Linked DNA regions of Homo sapiens: region 2 is linked to region 1. Evidence: promoter capture Hi-C in human tissues and cell types (Jung and others, 2019). All regions are on one chromosome and are shown on one strand. Each heading gives the region's core, a stretch centred on a gene start or on the middle of the fragment in contact. The rest is flanking DNA. Distances are from core to core; before and after follow the strand shown. Region 1 holds the start of ELOVL5 (ELOVL fatty acid elongase 5). Region 2 has its middle 50 kb from the start of KLHL31.

Evidence for each region. The method cuts DNA at HindIII sites, captures the fragments that hold promoters and counts their contacts. A contact is called where the count stands out against the background at its distance.
Region 2: a fragment that was not itself captured here is called in contact with the fragment with the promoter of ELOVL5 in region 1 in 1 of the 25 tissues and cell types used here (heart left ventricle).

The regions. Positions count from the first base shown.
Region 1 is chr6:53,346,792-53,350,519 of GRCh38, reverse strand. It overlaps ELOVL5 (ELOVL fatty acid elongase 5), which reads left to right and starts at 1,570. Exons shown (of 8, transcript NM_021814.5): 1 at 1,570-1,703. RefSeq lists a silencer at 1,730-2,169. The HindIII fragment of the contact is 18,484 bases long and covers 1-3,728 here.
Region 2 is chr6:53,713,867-53,717,594 of GRCh38, reverse strand. No RefSeq gene overlaps it. Among named protein-coding and RNA genes, the nearest start is that of KLHL31, 50 kb to the right of the region's middle. The HindIII fragment of the contact is 5,838 bases long and covers 1-3,728 here.

The DNA of each region.
Region 1 (3,728 bases), core at 321-2,820:
CTCAAAAAAATAGTCTATGCCACCAGCATATGCTTTTCTCATGTCCCTTGATGTCCATAGCAGCATTTACCACTCTGCATTGTAGTTGCTTCCTGACTGTATCATTTTCCAGGCCCAAGAAGTCCTTGAAGGTTTCAAATTTTGAATACCTAACATAGTATCTAGCAAATTGAAGTCATTCAGTGTTTGTGGAGCTCAATGGCAACTGACAATCTCGATTCTTTGTATATGTTTAATTTACTTAATTTGTACATGGTTTGTATACTTGCATTCCTATTGCAATGGCCCACTGCCTGGAACACAGCTGGCACGTGATAAGCATTACATTGTAAATATGTAAAAGAATAAATTTGCCGGCCAGGCTCGGTGACTCACGTCTGTAATCCCAGCACTTTGGCAAGCTGAGGCGAGCGGATTACCTGAGGTCAGGAGTTCGAGACCAGCCTGGCCAACATGGCGAAACCTCATCTCTACTAAAAATACAAAAATTAGTCGGGTGTGGTGGCGCGTGCCTGTAATTCCAGCTACTTGGGAGGCTGAGGCAGGAGAATCGCTTGAACCCGGAAGGTGGAGGTTGCAGTGAGCTGAGATCGCGCCACTGCACTCCAGCCTGGGCAACAGAGCGAGACTCTGTCTCAAAAAAGAAAAAAAAAGAAAAAAAAGAATAAATTTGCCTACATTAAATAGCCGACTGTTAGGTGGATGCACATAGAGGAGTAAGAATACAGCAAGAGGGGCACACGAAGAAAGGCTAAATCTCTGGGGTTTGAATGGGGAAACAGTAGGATACAAAGCTAATGAAGGTCTTTAATTATCCAAATATCAGTGAAAAACAGCAAGGATCTTCCGTTTATGCCCTGAACCCCCTTTGTCTTAAGTGCTTAAATATGCTTAGCTGAAAAGACACTGATTCCATCTTTCCTCATTTAACAATCCTTTAGAATAATTTCTAGAGTAGAAATGGAGTTGATAGTGGCTTCCAAAGAAAAATCAGAATCCCTAAGAAAAATACACGGTAAATCCTTTGCAAGGGAGTTATGGTTACAACAGTTTTGAGTCGTTTTGTTCTTGTTCCTTTATCTTGTTCAACTGCAGACCTTCACTCCGGCGGTCTCCGTGGGCATTTAACCCTTTCAGCTTTAACGATGAAGTGGATCCCCTTCAGCATGACATAACTCATAGAGGAGACCGTAACGAGGGTGGGCTTCTGCCACCCAAATGCGGCCACAGACTCCTGCCACGCCTGGCAGTAAAAAAACCAGAGTTCAGGGCATCGACAACTTCACCGGGGCTATTGCGCAGGCTCTGCGTTCCACGCAGGCTTATTAGGAAGAAAGGGGAAAAAAATTTCCCAGAGACACGTGGAACCGAGGGGCCAACCCCGGCCTAGGCTCTCCACCGCATCGGATTCTGGAATTTACGATCACGAAAGTTCTATTGTCCCGCGATTGGCTCCCGGGCCGCATGACATCATAGCGCTTGATTCATCCTTCGGGTCCCGATTGGCTGGCCGCGCCATTGTGACGTCACGGTCAGCCCACGTTCTGATTGTAGATAGCCGGCGCCTTCCTCTTCCCATCGCGCGGGTCCTAGCCACCGGTGTCTCCTTCTACATCCGCCTCTGCGCCGGCTGCCACCCGCGCTCCCTCCGCCGCCGCCGCCTTGCTGCTGCTCAAAGCTGCTGCCGCCCCTTGGGCTAAAAGGTAAAGCCGTCAGCTCCGGGAAACTTCGTCGGGGGCCGCCGCTCGGCCATGACACCCGCGCGAGCGCGCGGCCGGGAAGCGGTCAGAGAGAACTGCCGTTAGGTCTCGGACCTGGTGCCGAGAAAGAGCTGCCGGGGCAACCCGCGCTCCGCCCGCGGCCTCCAGCTCCGCCGGCTCCGGGGTACAGCCCGGCTCCTCGGGCGCGGGGAAAGGGGTGCGGGTGCGGGCGCGGGCGGCTCGCCCCACGCCGAGGCTGAGGCAGGGCGCTCGGGAGCGTTCTCTGTGCTGCGGTCCCACCTGTGCGCGCTGACAGGCGCCGCGGGGCACGACACCGTGCCCACACCAGACGCGGAGGGATGGATCTGTCCGCCTGGGTCCTCCCGCCCTGCGGGCCGGAGCGCGCGGCGGGAGAGCCGGGGGAGCGCTCTCGGAGGGAGCGCGCTTTCTTTGGAGTCGGCGAAACCCGGGTGAGTTCGAAGAGCCTGTGCGAGGGTCTGCGGGCACCGGGCGCCGCTGGGGGGACTCTCCGGCCTTTCCTTTTTGTCCTGTTCTCTCCGCTTCCGTTAACCCTGCGGACCTTCCGTCCGCCCCTCGGAGGGAAGCCTGCTAGCTCGGGACCGCTTCAGTTTTTATTGAAACCAGACAACGGCAGCCCTTGGTACTCAGGGAGGGATGAGGCTGGTGGGAAAGCGAGAGGGCGGGGACTCGGGGGCGACCGGGGCGGCCCTTTCTGGGAGCCTGATCCCTGGAGAGGCGGGAGCGGTTGGCTGCGAGGGAGGCGCGCGGCGGGGGGGCGGTTGTGCTCTGCGCCGGGGGAGCTAGAGTGTGTGTTGTCTTGCGAGTTGTAAGGAAAAGTGCCTTTTTACTGTTTCCACGCCGGTAAGACTCTCCCACCCCACCACCTCGGGTCGACGGAGCAATGCCTAGAGCAAGAGTTGTTCTTGCTGAACTGCGTCTTGCAACCGTTCCGTGTTCTTGCACTTGGCGGTTCCCCCCGCCCCATCCACAATTGTGAATTAAGCTCCTTGATTGCAAATTTGGAGAATGCATTTGGCCAGTTATGCAAAGTGGCGGAGGTGGCGGGGTCGGGGGCGGGGGGTCTCTTTCGGAAGAATCCAGTGCATGGTTTATTAGCTAGACTGAGGAACCGAGAGGTGCTAGATGGGATTTGTGGGGAGCGAGCAGCCTAATTTGTTTTAAATAGCGGGACCCGTGGCAGGAAGTGCTTCATAGAATTGTACGGAAGAGCTGATGTTGCTTGTCAGGTTTTGTAACTCATTCTCCTAACCGCTTGGCAGATAACCTGTTGGTCTGCACTTGTTTTGCTTGCACGTCTCAGCCAAAAGCATTTCGTGCAGAATCTACAGATAGAAACAGGCGGTTTTGCATTAGATGGCCGTGGACAAACATTTTAGCCTTCCATCTGTGATTGGGGACAAGTGGGTTACTTTTCTGGTAGCTCAGACACTGCCTGGGATTCTCCAGGAAAGCTCTGCACTTGAAAGGGAAATGTTACTCATTTTCCTTTTAGATTTTTACCCTAGATTCTAACTTCTTATTGCCAGGAACTTTTTCTGTACTGTTTCTCTTTTTGCATTTTCGTTTCTATTTCTAATTGAAGACAAAGGGGAAATTTTTATTGATAGTTACAGATAGGTAATGTTACAGAATGTAGTACAGAACTTTGCTGAAAAGCGACAGTAGAAGGCTTACTAAAATTTGATGTTTTTCAAGAAAAATATCTTGTAACTTCAGATATTGACCTCACCTCCTTGACTCAATTTCCTTGTCTATACATGGGGATTTTATGTGGCAGGATCATTGTGGATTTCAAGAGATAATGCAAATGAGAGCCCAGCATTGAGTCTGCCAAATGGTGGTTTGAAAATGTTTCCTTCCCATTCCCTGAAATCAACAGCTTCTTCTTGGTTACAGACCTTAATTTTTGGATGTTCTGTTTGCAAGAATCTTTTTTTCCACTACCTCTTCTTTTGCTCCCTGCATAATGGTTGCTTGTCTTCCTGC
Region 2 (3,728 bases), core at 365-2,864, 370 kb before region 1:
ACACATCATGTGCTAGGAGGGTGGTACATGGAAGCCCTGTATTCCCCTATCCTCATATCTTGTTCTATCCATCTCTTCCATTTGGTTATTCCTAAGTTGTTTCCTTTATTATAAAACTGTAGCACTCTCAGTGAGTTCTGTGAGCCATTCTAGTGAATTACTGAACCTGAGGGAGGTCATGAGATCCCCCAAATTTGTAGTCAGCTAGGCAGAAGTACAGGTAGCTTGGGATACCTGAGATTGGTGGCTGATGTCAGATGTGAAGGCAATTTGGGGACTGAGCCCTTCGCATGTGGGGTCTGTGCTAACTCCAGGTGTTTAGTATCAGAGAGGAATTGAAGTGTTGGGCACCCAGTTGAAGTCATAGAATCAGTGTCAGAGCATACACACCATTATCACAATCCAATATGAGGAACCTTTGTGGAGTGATGGAAATCTGAAATCTTTCAGTTCTTTACTTACCTGATCTCTTTGCAGCACTGGACATGGTCAACCAGTCTTCATTCCTAAAACCCTCCTCTACTGGTTCCTGAAAACTAAACTTTTCACCTTCCTCCTACCTCTGACCACCTCTTCCCAGGCTCCTTTGCAGGCTCTCCTTTATCTTTTTGTGCCTAAAATAGTTCTCCAGGTGTCTTTTCCCAGGTCCAATCTCCTGTGCATTGATGACTTCTAAATTTGTATCCCCAATCCCCCAAGTCCTTCTCATAGGCTGATGACCAACAGTCCAACGCATTTTTGGACATTTCCTCACAGATGCATTGAACTCACTAAAACGAAACTCTCCATCTTTTCGCTTTGCTTCTGTGCTCTCTGTTCCAAACCTGCTTTGGGTCATGTATTCCGGTCAATATGAACTACAACCATGCCCAAGTAGACACCCTATTCGAGTTGCTCTCTGTGATTTGCCCTTCGTTGAAGTCATCCTAATTAGTGCAGCCAATGTTCTGCCAAACAAGAGGAATTGCTTCTTGTAGAAAATGTAAAAATAAAAGAGAAGATTTCAATGCAAATGAAGAAGATTTAGTCATGACTGAAGAGCACAGGCTAGGAAAGCGCTGTCTGGTGGACCAAGACATTACCTTGGACACTAAACCATGAAGCGGGGCCTGAAAGGACTCCCTTTTACAGAAGACCTACAGGCTTCTCCCAGAAGATGGAATTAAGGCAAGCACGAAAACTTGGAGGCTACCTATTTACCAACCTTTTTAAAAAAAGTTTTAAAAAAATTATAATTTCTGCAGGATTCCTATGTGACCACAGTGCTAAGTGCTTTATATATATTATTTCATTATTGCTCACAATAGGGCTAGGCATGGTGGCTCACTCCTGTAATCCCAGCACTTTGGGAGGCTAAGGTGGGTGGCTCACTTGAGGTCAGGAGTTTGAGACCAGCCTGGCCAGCATGGTGAAATCCTGTCTCTGCTAAAAATACAAAAAAAAAAAAAAAAAAAGGCCAGATGTGATAGTGCACACCTGTAATTCCAGCTACTTAGATGACTGATGCACAAGAATTGCTTAAACCCAGGAGGCAGAGGTTGCAGTAAGCTGAGATCTCACCACTGCACTCCAGCCTGGGTGACAGAGTGAGACTCAGTCTCAAAACAAAAAAACAAAGAAACAAACAAAAAATTGCTTACAACAACCCTGTAATCTAAGTGTTGTTTGCTCCACTGTTTAGATAAGGACATTTGGGGTTAGGAGGTTATTTGCCCAAGGACAACCTAACTTGTCAATTCTACAGCTTGAATTCAAGTCTACCTGTAAAACCTGTAGCCTGATCCGTGACAGTAGCCAAAGCCTTTTTTTTTTGGTCACAAAGGTAGTCCAAAAAGTTATCTGATGATGCTACATCCCTCTGAGTTTTTTAGGCTGGGCTAAAAGCATCATTCTAACTGCCCTATAGTTTTTATTCTGTTTTATTGTAAAGCAATGATTCATACAGTTAGAACTACCCAGGGTTAAATTCCTTTTTGTATATATTAAGCACAAATAGCAAAGTGCTGGATAGCATAATTACTTTTGTACAAAAATATGTACTTTATAAATAGATAGTATTTTAGGATATTTGCTTTTTTATAATGGAATGTTGGGGATAAGAAGGGAATGAGGTTGCAGCTAATCCTATTGGTTTTGTACAGTTCTGTAAAGATTAAATTTATAAGTGGGTTAAGTGGATGGGGGGATCGTGGTCCATGTTTTGGCTTGTTTTTATACCTCTTTGGATTAAAAAAATCAATATTTATTACTTTAAAAACTACCTTTTAGAAGTCACTCTCAAACTATTTTTCTACAAAGAGCCTTTTCAATAAACATCTTAGGAAAGTGCAGAGGTTGAAGAGCATTTCATGAGGAAGTCTTCTTTCTGGCTTCTGATAAGGCATGTCATTTAAATGAACAATTCTGCAGGTCACCCTCCACCTGAAAAATTACTGAATGCTCCCAGAGTCCCATAAACAAAGATCTTCTTTGTCCTTGAGCCAAACCCATATGTGGTTAAAGACAAAGTCAGCTTGCTTTGAAGTTCAGAGAAAGAGTTGACTACAGTACTTCACCACTGAGAAACAATATGACCCTAGCTCACTCTTATGGACGGGGTGCCTTTCACCCTTTGCACCTGTCAAGGAAGACAGACTTTTTTATCTATTTTCTTAAAAGTGGCCATGCAGCTTTATAAAGGTGTTTGTGGAAGTACTTCAACTGAATTTATATTGGAATTTAGAAGATGTGAAGATAAAATACTTCACATAAGAAAAATACTATGTTTTCTTATTACTTATTAAGTAACGAGACATTTCACTGAAATACATAAGAAAAGTACGTTTTACTTGTATGTGGTCCTATTGCATATGTTGAATACCTTTTAATAGCTATTCTGAATATTAAGTTTCAAACCTTATCAGTCAAAGGATATAATTTATAAGAGTCCCCTTAAGTAGGACGTGGAGGTCAGATGTTGGGCAGGAAAGCAAACAAACACAGAAACTAACAAATTTTCACTATGCTTTCCAGGAAAGGGACATTTTATCAGAGTCCTGAAGGACGAGTGGTAGCTAACTAGATTAAAGGAGGGGAAAAGTAGAAAATATTTCAGGCAAAGAGAACATCCTGTCTGAAGTCCCCAGCCATGAGGAAAGACAGCAGTATACAAGAAACTGAAAGAAAGCCATGGAGCTCAGACCGCTGCAGGGACAGTGGCCCCGAAAAAGGCTAGGCACAGAATTGTAGGCTATGCTGTTCTTGCCTCTATCCAGAAACTGACAGAAAATCATTGAAAGGTTTTCACTATGTGTGGGAAGGTTTTAAAGACGCTGTCAAAAAGTCAGCAGCCTAGTTTTTTCCCTTTGAGGGTAATCCTCTTTCACCCTGGCTACTTTTTCATTATGACATGTTTTGTGTGGATTAGTGTCCTTCGCCAACTGTGAAAAACTAGCCATCATCTCTTCAGGTATTTTTTCTTCCCCATCTTCACTGTCTCCTCTTCATCAAGAACGCTAACTGGATGTCTGTTAGGTCTACTTACTTTGTCTTAATCTCTCTATCAGGTTTTCCATCTCTTTTTCTCTCTTTACTGCATTCTGGAAAATTTCTTCAGAACACTGTGGTTCACTAATTCTTCAGCCTGCAGAATTTTTTTCTTTTTTTTTTTTTTTTTTCATTTCTTGTGGTTGTATTTGCTTCTTTTTCAAACTTAGATGTTCAGCTTCTTTATAATCCTATTCATTATT